Regions from separate parts of the Homo sapiens genome. Here all the other regions are linked to region 1. Evidence: promoter capture Hi-C in human tissues and cell types (Jung and others, 2019). All regions are on one chromosome and are shown on one strand. The core of a region is centred on a gene start or on the middle of the fragment in contact, and the rest is flanking DNA. Distances in the headings are between cores, read along the strand shown. Region 1 holds the start of EBF1 (EBF transcription factor 1). Region 2 holds the start of THG1L (tRNA-histidine guanylyltransferase 1 like). Region 3 has its middle 200 kb from the start of CLINT1.

The links. The method cuts DNA at HindIII sites, captures the fragments that hold promoters and counts their contacts. A contact is called where the count stands out against the background at its distance.
Region 2: the fragment with the promoter of THG1L here is called in contact with the fragment with the promoter of EBF1 in region 1 in 1 of the 25 tissues and cell types used here (thymus).
Region 3: a fragment that was not itself captured here is called in contact with the fragment with the promoter of EBF1 in region 1 in 1 of the 25 tissues and cell types used here (lymphoblastoid cells).

The regions. Positions count from the first base shown.
Region 1 is chr5:159,098,033-159,101,445 of GRCh38, forward strand. It overlaps EBF1 (EBF transcription factor 1), which reads right to left and starts at 1,884. Exons shown (of 16, transcript NM_024007.5): 1 at 1,313-1,884. The coding sequence starts at 1,446. It overlaps LINC02202 (long intergenic non-protein coding RNA 2202), which reads left to right and starts at 2,451. Exons shown (of 3, transcript NR_109890.1): 1 at 2,451-2,806. RefSeq lists enhancers at 1-414, 2,164-2,792, 2,793-3,413 and a silencer at 1,057-1,346. The HindIII fragment of the contact is 15,907 bases long and covers 1-3,413 here.
Region 2 is chr5:157,729,539-157,732,951 of GRCh38, forward strand. THG1L (tRNA-histidine guanylyltransferase 1 like) reads left to right here and starts at 1,882. Exons shown (of 6, transcript NM_017872.5): 1 at 1,882-2,093; 2 at 3,330-3,413. The coding sequence starts at 1,903. RefSeq lists enhancers at 253-372, 403-482, 1,799-2,158. The HindIII fragment of the contact is 18,862 bases long and covers 1-3,413 here.
Region 3 is chr5:158,055,720-158,059,132 of GRCh38, forward strand. No RefSeq gene overlaps it. Among named protein-coding and RNA genes, the nearest start is that of CLINT1, 200 kb to the left of the region's middle. The HindIII fragment of the contact is 5,538 bases long and covers 1-3,413 here.

The DNA of each region.
Region 1 (3,413 bases), core at 634-3,133:
CTAATACTCAGTGGGGATGGGAACAGTGTTGGGGACACTTGTCCCCAGCCCAGGGAAGCTGGAGATGATGTAATTAGTCATCTTCCTTCTTCCCCTTCCGCACTCTGAGTCCGATAGGGCCTGGGGCCACCAGATCTCCCACTGTCCCAAGCTCAGCTGGTGGCTTAATGGGGGGAAAAAGGCCATTTCTCACTTGGGACCAGGAGCCTGGGAAAGAGCCTTGGGTGTGCCCAGGAAAGTTCCCTCAGGTCAACCTCCAAGGGCAATGCCTCCAGGCCACACAGTCTAGTGTCTAGGGAGCTGCGAGTGAGAGAAGGGCTGGAAGGGGCCATGGTGACAGGGGCTGGAGAAGACTTTTGGGAGATATCAGAATTAAAGTTGGGAGTTGCTATTCTACCGGTAGACTAAGAAAAAACTGAAAGACAGAGAGGGAGGGAAGGAGAACGAGATAGCAGAAATAAGAGAAGACTCAGGGGAGAAATGGGACGAAAAAACAGGAAAGCCAGAGAGGTAAGGAAAGGAGAAAGAGGAGAAAGGAGGGAAGCTGAAGAAAGAAGAGAAAGAAAATGGAGAGAGGAAGGGAGGAAGGAAAAGAGTGAGGGAGAAATTAAGGGAAGGTGGGGGAAAGAAATGAGAGAAGGAAATGAAAGAAAGAAGAAAGAAAAGAAGGCAGGAAGAGAGACAGGAAAGAACGAAGAACGAAAGAAATGGAAGGAGGGAAGAGGGGAAGAAAGGAAGAGGAAGGAGAAGAGAAGAAAATAAAGGGGGGAGAAAGGAAAGAAGGAAGAAAGAAAAAAGAAAGGCAGGAAGAGGAAAGAGAAAGAAAAAGGAAAAAGAAAAGGAGGAAAGAAAAAAAGAAAGAAAAAGAAAAAAGAAAGAAAAAGGAAGGAAGGAAGAGAAAGAAAGAAAGAAAAAAGAAAAGAGGGAAAGGAAGAGCGAAGGGAAAGAAGAAAAGAGAGCCGGCCGGAAAAGAAAGAGCAATCACATAAAAACATAAAACACAGATCTCCAACATGCTGTGTTGAGACGCCTCTTCTGGGTTAAAACAAAATGAAAACAGTCACAGACGAGGCAGGGGAAAGTGCTGGCAAAGCGTGGGCTCCTCGCAGACAGCTCCAGGTCCTCCGGCCGCAGGCGACGAAGGCAGAGCGGCTGGAGAGCGCGGAGCCCCGGCGGAGAGCGGAGCGCAGCGGCTGCGGACTCACCCCGCCGCCCGGCCCCGCGGCAGCAGCTGCCGCTGCCGCTGCCGCCTCCGCCTCCCGGCTCTCCCGCTCGCGGCTCACCTCGGCCGCGGTCCCCGCGCAGTACCCACCTCTGCGCCGCCGTGTTGGCGTCCAGCACCCCGGCGCCCTGCATCCACGTCCGCACCGCGTTCATGCCGCTGCCCAGCGGCTCTTCCTTCATGCTGCTTCCACTCCGTTGGATGCTTTCCTGAATCCCAAACATGAAAACAACCTTTTCTTGTGGAAAATCTCCTCCCCCTTGAAAAAAATTAAAAAAAAAAAAAAAGGAAAGAAAAGAAAGAAAAGAAAAGAAACAAAAACGCCAACCAGAGATTTTTTTTTTTCTCAGACGATGAACTCGCACTTAGAAGATCAAGGCGGGCTGGAAAGCAAATTTTTAAAAAATGTAAACCTCTGCTCAAAACTGAGCGATAACCCGAAAAAAAGAAGAAAGGGAAAATCCAACGAAAAGACCAAAATAATAAAATTAGAGATGTATGCTTGGCTGTTGGGGGTTGTTTGGTTGGTTGATTTTTGGTTTGGGTGCTTTTTTTTTTTTTTTGCTTTTTTTTTTTTTTTTTTGTAATGATCACAGGCCGGTGGAGGACAGGAGGGGCTGGAGTTTCCTTTTGTAGAGGTACCCTTCACTTGAAGAAGCAGGAAGAAAAAAAAAAAAAAAAAAAAAAAAAAAAAAAAAAAACCCTGATGGCAATTTAAGAAACAATAGACTCAACTCGCGCTGCCGGCTTTGCTACTTCAAGTGTCATTTTCCACAACCAGGCAAGTTTTTTCCTCTCTCTCTCTTTTTTTTTCCTCCTTCTCTCCCAACCAAAGATGTTTCTTTCCTTTGCGTGTAGATGAGGAGGACGCTGGTTGCCGTAGACAGATACACCAGAGAGGGTGGGGGGAAGGGGAGAGAGGGAGAGAGGAAAGGGGGGGAGGGAAAGAGAGATAGAGAGGAGAGGGAGAAAGAGAGAGGGGTGGACCCTGCTGGATGGAGATTCTGTTTTCTCCTTGCTAAAATAGAAGTGATTTGCAGGCTTTCCCTATGGAATCCAGTTTGACTTTCCCCAGAGCTAAACACAGGCACACTAACCCCAAAGGGAGGAGGCGGGGCCCGCGCATCGAGGCCCCGCCCCTTCATTTGCATAACGTCATCTTTCCGCCCACCGCAGCCAATCGCGGCCCGGGAGCCGGCTCGCTGGCGGCGCCAGGCCACGCTCTCTCATTAACATCCCGCTCCCGGTGGCGCAGGGGAGCCGGCCAAAGTTCCTCGCAAAGTGGCGAGCGAAGGAGCGCTGAGCACTGACGTCTGGGCTGGGGAGGAGCGGGTCCGAGCGAGGACGGAGAGGGGACAGAGGGAAAGGGAGGCGGGTGTCTTCCTCAGGAATTTGAGCTGGGGATCTGCATCCTGGCCATTGCAGTCCTTTAGCATCCTCGCCGCGCCCTGAGCGCGCTGGAGGCTCGCAGGCTGCGCCCTCCCAGGGCTGATGCCGCGTCCTGCTCCGCCGTTCTGGGACGTCGGGGACAAAAGTGGAGGAGACGGGAGAGCCCGGGCAGAAAAAGCAGGACGCGCGTCCCAGGTGCCCACCTCTTCGCTTTGAGGCGGGGGCGGTGGGATGGAATATGGGTGCGCGAGGTCGGGGCTGGTAACTCTCGGAGGGGCACGGCCTCCACGCTGGGAGGGATGAATGGACGCTGGGCCCCGGCAAATGAGGCGCTGTGGGTCCCCAGGAAGTGGGGTACCAGGCTCTACTCCCACCCCGGCCTCTGAAACGCTTCTCTCTCGGCCGCTAGCCTAGAGGCTGCCAGGGTTGGGCACTGTTCTCACTCACACGCTCACCTCTCTCGGGCAGTCCTCGAGATATGTGAATGGTGGAATGAATGCTCTCACTGGGGCTGTGTCAGGATGCGTTTTTAAATTTTCTCAAATTAAATGCCAACCCCTCATTCCCCACCCCAAGTAGTTGGTTCGTTTGTTTTTAGAGTAACTACCAAAGCAACAGCAATGTTAACCGTCCTTGATTAGCTGGTTATTTGGTGTAGGGTTTTTCTCATCCTCCTTTATTCTTCCTGTTAAAAAGGAGGGCTTGAACAAATCCTTCCTAACTCTGTCTCTGCCATATGAAAAGGGTGGGGGGAGAAGAGAAGGAAGGTGGGGAGAAAGGACAAAAAAGGAAGAAGGGGAAG
Region 2 (3,413 bases), core at 632-3,131, 1.4 Mb before region 1:
CTGATAGGAGTCTCATCTCCCAGTGTGGGATGTGGATGGGGAAACCCTGTTTCTACAAAAAAAAATACAAATATTAGGTGGGCATGGTGGCACGCACCTGTAGTCCCAGCTACTAGGAAGGGAGGTGGGAGGTTCACCTGAACCCAAGAGGTCTAGGCTGCAGTGAGCTGAGATCATGCCATTGTACTCCAGCCTAGGTGACAGTGAGACTCTGTCTCGAAAACATACACATAAAAAAAATAAAAATCATGAATTCATATTGATAAGTAATTTTGAAAAATTCACCTAATGAAAGTAGGGCTCCTAGAGGAGGCAAGATTTGGTTGTCTCCTGGTCAGCTTGGAGAGAGGAGTTTGTGGAAGTAAAAGGTGAGGAATGATAACCTACAGAAAACTGACTTCACAGCAACAGAAACAAAGAAAAGATGCAGGATGTCATAATTTATGTCTTGGTCCTGCCACATATGTGACCTTATGTAAATTATTTTTTTCTCTTTGAGTCTCAGATTTCCCCTTTGTAAAGGTGAAATCCCAGTTCCTCTTTTGCATCCCTCTGATGTTACTCTGAGCATCAAAGGAGTGATGACTACCATTTGTGGTACTATTATGAGGATATACACACATACTGATATAGATCCCTGTATGGATACACAAAAAACTGGTAACAGTAACTGCCTAAAGTATGTTGTTAGGAGTCAGTGAGAGACTTTTTGCTACATATAAAAGGATTTATATTGTTTGAATATTTTTCTTTTTCTTTAGAGACAGATTCTTGCTCTGTCACCAAGGCTGGAGTGCAGTGGCTAATGATGGGTCACTGCAGTCTCGAACTCCTGGCCTCAAGTATCTTCCCACCTCATCCTCCCATAGCTAGGACTACGGGCATGGGCTACTAAGCCTGGATAATTTTTTTTCTTTTTTGTAGGAACAGGGGTCTTGCTACGTTGCCAAGGCTGGTATGAATCTCCTGAACTCAAGCAATCCTCCTGCCTCTGCCTCCCAAAGTGCTGGGATTACAGGCGTCAGCCACCGTGCCTGGCCTGAATATCTTTCTTGAGGATGGAAAAAAAAAAAAAGTAAGTAAGTAGGTAATGAATTTGAAAGAGCTTTGTAAATCACAAAGTATGACACAAATATTAGGATTTTATTTTTACTATTATCCACCAGCAACAAGATATCAAACACTGGTTCTGTGATTATTTAATGGTGAAAAAGTTGAATAAATCAATTTAGTATACCCATATGTTGGAATATTGAGTCCATTTTTCTTTTAAAAATCACACTTTGGAATAATTGATGATACTGGCAAATGCTCAAGCTGAGTGGAAAAATATATAAACATTGTATAGGCGAATAATTCCAATCTTGTGCATTCCCTGTGTAAACCTACATACACAAAAAGAAAAAAGACTGAAAGGAACCATCCACAATGCTTTGATGGGAAAGACGGAGAAACAAAGTGTTAATTTTCTTAACTATAGTTTTGGTGTATTCCAGATTTTCTACAAGTTAATAAATGCCACTAAGAAAAGGGGAAACATCACAGCTACACCTTCAAACACCAGAAAAAGAATTTTTTTTTTTTTTTTTTTTTTTAGGTTGGGGTATGATTTTGATCTGGGCACTAACGGGGACACTGATTGCTTTTGCCAGTAAGTCAAGACCAGCAGATAAAAAATAATTTTTAAAAACCTCGTGAGACTGATTTGCCGCAGGACGGGAGGAGGAAGAAGCAAGCGTGGAAGGTGCTAACGGAGGAACCTAAACCTCCATCCTCTTTGCCTGGGAGGTTAAGAACTACAGGGAGAGGCGAGAGAGACTATGACTGCCCTACGGCTAGAGTAGCCGCGAAGAGAACACTTCCGGGGCGGGGCTATCTGGCCCTTTCCTTTCCGCGTGTAGAATGTGGGGCGCCTGTAAAGTTAAGGTTCACGATTCCTTGGCCACCATTTCCATCACTCTGAGACGGTACCTGAGATTGGGGGCGACCATGGCAAAAAGCAAGTTCGAGTACGTGAGGGACTTCGAGGCTGACGACACCTGCCTGGCACACTGCTGGGTGGTAGTGCGGCTGGACGGCCGGAATTTCCATCGGTGAGCGAGCTCGACTCGGGGCGTCGCGATGCGCCAGCGCTTCCGGGGAATCCAGCTTCTTCCCTTGCAAGTCCTCCCGCCCGCTCCAGTCACGGTTACCAGGGTAACGCGGTAGCCAATGAGTGCGCAGCATGGAGCATTGCCCCGCCCTGCGTGTTGGCTAGGACAGTGCCTGAACGCTGGCTGTTAGCGTAATTGAATGGGCGATGTGCTCCCGTGATGAGGATCTGGCTTGGAGTGCCCGTGTTAAGTGAACAGAGACTTGTTAGCAAGGACCTGTTGTTAAAAGTCACTCTCATGCACAATATTTAAGCTCTTAAGCCAATTGCCTAGCTATTCTGTTAGATATCTTTGAATGCTGACTGTTCAGAAGTCTGTGTAAGCCTTGCTTGTGGGCAATACTTAACGTCTGTGCTTCATTATCAGTAACAGGCCACATGGACTAGATTCAACAGAGAGTCAGAAAAAAAGAGAAGGCTGGGCGCGGGAGGCAGGAGGATCACTTAAGGCCAGGAGTTGGAGACCAAGTTTTTGTTTTTGTTTTGTTTTTTCTGTGGTTGTTGTTTGTGAAACTCCGCCACTACAAAAAAAAAAAAAAAAAAAAAAAAAAAAAGAGAGAGAGAGAGAGAAAGAAGGAAGAGAGAAAGAAAGAAAAAGAAAAAATTTAATTTGCCCGGCGCAGTGGTGCACACATGTAGTTCCAGCTACTGGGAAGGCTGAGGTGGAAGGATCGCTTGAGCCTGGGAGGTCAAGGCTGCAGTGAGCGGTGATTGGACACTGCACTCCAGCTTGGGTGACAGAGCAAGACCCTGTCTCAGAAAAAGAGGGAGGGGGAGAAAGAAATATAACAGAAAGATGGGAATTTAATCTTTGAAGAGGGCTGCATTGTTAATGATTATTATAACTAACATTTATTGAGCACTTACTAGGAGCTAGGTATGATTACTTTTATCTTCTCCCTAATCTTCAGGACAACCCAATGAGGTAAATATTCTTTTATTCCCATTTCACAGAAAGGAGAGTTGAGGCTTAGCATTTCTGTCTGGCTTTCTCAATTTCAGGGCAGGAAAAAAACTAAGTTCTTAAGAAAATGGATCAGGTTGTGGCTAGTTGAGCATTTGAGTTCACAGTGCTATTACATTATCTTCCTCCAAACAGCCTCTGTTATCTAGCAACAGAGCGTGTTGTTAATGACAGGCTTCCATCCATGCTTTCTTCCCTTTTTCCCCTGTGAAGGTTTGCTGAGAAGCACAACTTTGCAAAACCCAATGACAGCCGTGCTCTCCAGCTGATGACCAAATGTGCGCAGACTGTGATGGA
Region 3 (3,413 bases), core at 306-2,805, 1.0 Mb before region 1:
AAATAATGAATGTTGCACCAGCTGCTGGCAGACTCTGAAATCTTCTGTTTTAAAATGCAGAAGGAAAAAGAAACACAATAAAAATATCCAATATGCATTTATCTGGTACATCATCTTTAAATAGCTCCCTTCAGATTGCAAAAAAGGTAACTCTATCCTCCTTCCTGGCTGGCTCTCTGCATCCTGCCACAAAACAGGGCTATTGGCCCTCGATTTTGACCTGGTATAAAAAGCAGTATATTTTTATGACCTGGTAACAGTCACATTTCTACACCATAAAATATTAAAGCAGGCATGACAGTGCCTTTAAGATCTTTGAGGCAGGTGCTATCAAAATGTGCCCCTTTATTATTTATTTATTTGACTCTTTTTGTATAGTGAGGCTTAAATGCTTTTCAGGCCAAATAATTAAATTCCATTATGGAGAGCGGGAATTGTTGGCAAAATATACTCACTCTCGCTATTAGACCCTTCAGTCCCCAGCGGAACTCCATGGAGGGGAGTAAAAAAAATCTGGCTTATATTTATATGTAAGATATGCAGTATGACATATTGGGCCCACAGGAGTGATGCTACATGAAAAAACAAATAGGGAGGGGACTGCTAGAGATCCTTCTCTCCTGGCCAGCAATCTCCTAGAGCAGGGGTCTGCCAACTATGGCTTGTGGGCCAAATCTGCCCATTGCCTGTTTTTGTACATCCTATAAGCTGAGTATGGTTTTGACAATTTAAATGGTTGAAAAAAAGTAACAGAGGAATAATATTTTGTGGCATGAGAAAACAAAATGAAATTAAAATTTAATTGTGCATAAAAAAGTTTGACTGGAACACAGCCACACCCATCATTTACATATTGCCTATGGTTGCATTTACATTCCTTCAAGTTGAGTGGTTGCCACAGAGAACGTAGGGCTGCAAAGCCAGAAATATTTACTGTCTGGCCCTTTACAGGAACAGCTTGCTGAACCCTGTTCTAGAGGAATTTGGACTTGGGCTCTGGAAAGGATAGCATGGGGGCTAGCCGAGTTCAAGATCCTTTATGCTGTTGATGCATTTGGATGTTGACTTTGATTTGATGAACCTGATTGTTTTTTGAAATGGACACATAGGCCGGTTAAGGGAAGAGGACAGGCATGCCCTAAAGTAGTTTTTGGATCCCATAACCCTCCCCTTCAAATGCAGCTCCTGGGATTGTATACTGGGTGACGTCCTTTCCCTCTCTCTGCAGTGTGTTTCTTTATATCTTTTCCGCCTCATCATCTCCATGACTGTTACCCACGGTTAAGGCATGACCATCTCCCCTGTTTTTGGGCAAAAGTCTGCAAACTGGTCTATTTCTATTCCATTTCAATAAGCAGTTGCTTCTCCACATAATAGTTGCAGCAATGTTTTAAGAAACAAAAACAGACCATATAACTTCCCTCAGATGGATGTGCTCCCTACTTTAGTCAAGATTCTGCTCAAATGACACCCCCAGGGAAGCCTTTCCTTGCCCACTCTTTCTAGAACAGCCCCCACCTCACTCCATCACTGTTTATGTTGTTACTTTTTTTTTCTTTTAAACTGTGTGCATAGCTCACTGCAGCCTAGGCTCAAGTGATTCTCCTGCCTCAGCCTCCTGAGTATCTGGGACTGCTGGCACATGCCACCATGCTTGGCTAATTAAAAAATTTTTTTGTAGACATAGGCTTTCACTTTGTTGCCCAGGCTGGTCTTGAACTTCTGGCTTCAAATGATCCTCCTGCCTCGGCCTCCCAAAATGCAGGGATTGCAGGCATAAGTCACCACACCCGACCTTGTTACTCCTTTTTATTGCTGTTCCAGCATTTGTTATCATCTTATATTATCTGAGTTGGTTCATTGGGTTACATTTGGTTTCCCCTGCCAGAATGGAAGCTCCATAAGAGTAGGTACCTCGACCATCTTATTCATTAGAGCATTTCCAACATCTCACGAGTTCTCAAGAAAAGGTTGTTAAGTGAGTAAATAAATGGATCAATCCTCCTGGCATAGGCCATGCAGTGTTGGCATCACCTTCTGCCTGTCTGCTTCTCCAGCGGTGTGTTAGCTTTTAAAATTTCTATATCCTTGCTCTCAAGGAGACCTGTGACTAGTAGGAGACACAGACATTAAACACTTCTTGGCATTTCACTTTCCTGCCATCTGCACCCTTCCTCCTGGATCCTGTTGTCTTTTAAGGCTAACCTGGTTATTTTCCATGAACCCACAGAAGGTTGAGAAAAGCTTCCTGTGTGTGGCAGACACTGTCAGGCTCCTTTTAGATCCCTTTGGATCCATTTCACTCTCCTTCCCCTGATTGCTTTTGCTTCTGTGACCTGCTCCAGTCACTCTCTTCAAAGGACACTTTTGGGCAACTGAAGTGGCTTACCCCCAAATCTCAGATAGGTGGAAATGCCTATGGGTTTATCCACCAGGGGCTGTTCTTGGTGAACAGCTGACTTGTGCAGAGGCATAAAATCCCAGCTTCCTTACCTCAAATGTAGACAAACTCTGAGGTACCCAACTTTCACTCCTGGGTTCTCTGTGGAGTTGGGTTGAAGCTGCTCTCCATGGGAAAAGGCCAGAAATCAAGCCTTTGCTCAGCTTCTCCCCCCTTCCTTCTTCTCCCTTACCAATTTCTCCCGGGAGCATTTCCTTAACAAATCTCTTGCCCACATGCCTTCCTCTCTGAGTCAGCTTCTGAGAAATCTCAGGTAACACACTCTGCTTTTGCATCATAGAGAGGCACATACACATTGAATCTAAAGAAAGTACATAATGGGAATATCAGCCACTGTGGCAGACCAGGGTTTAATATATTTTTTGGTTGGTGGGTGGAAGGCATGAGGCCTAAGACAGGAGGACTTTGAAGGGCCATGAAAATTGAATCATGTTGGTGATGTACTATTTTGATAATATGTTAGGCTTGTTCTTAGTAAAGGAATCGCATAAAAAGAGGAAGCTAGGAATGCCCTTATTTGAGCAATAAACGTTAAAAAGAAAATAAAAGTAGCATACATTTGGTTTTAGGGGATGGCAGAGCAGGAGTCATGGGGGGAGAAAGGATGATTTTACATTTAGGATGTTCTATGTCAAGGTCCATTCTAGCAGATGTGCTAAGCTCTCCTGTCATCATTACCGACATGCCAACAAATCTTTTCATCCTGCACATGCCGGCAGCTTATTTAAGATCATCGGGCCCAAAATGACATGGTTTTTGTCTTCCACCAGATGGTTCAATTAGTCAAGATTCTGAAAAAGCCAACTGGAACATTCTTTTAGCCCCATCTATTCAAGTCAGCCAACACTTCAAAGCTGGGTGGGTGGGGATTCTGAGAGCAACAGATTTCCCAGCCCCAAGGCATCAGGGTTATTACTTTTTGATGGGCTCCTGGAGGGCTGTAGGAGGCTGC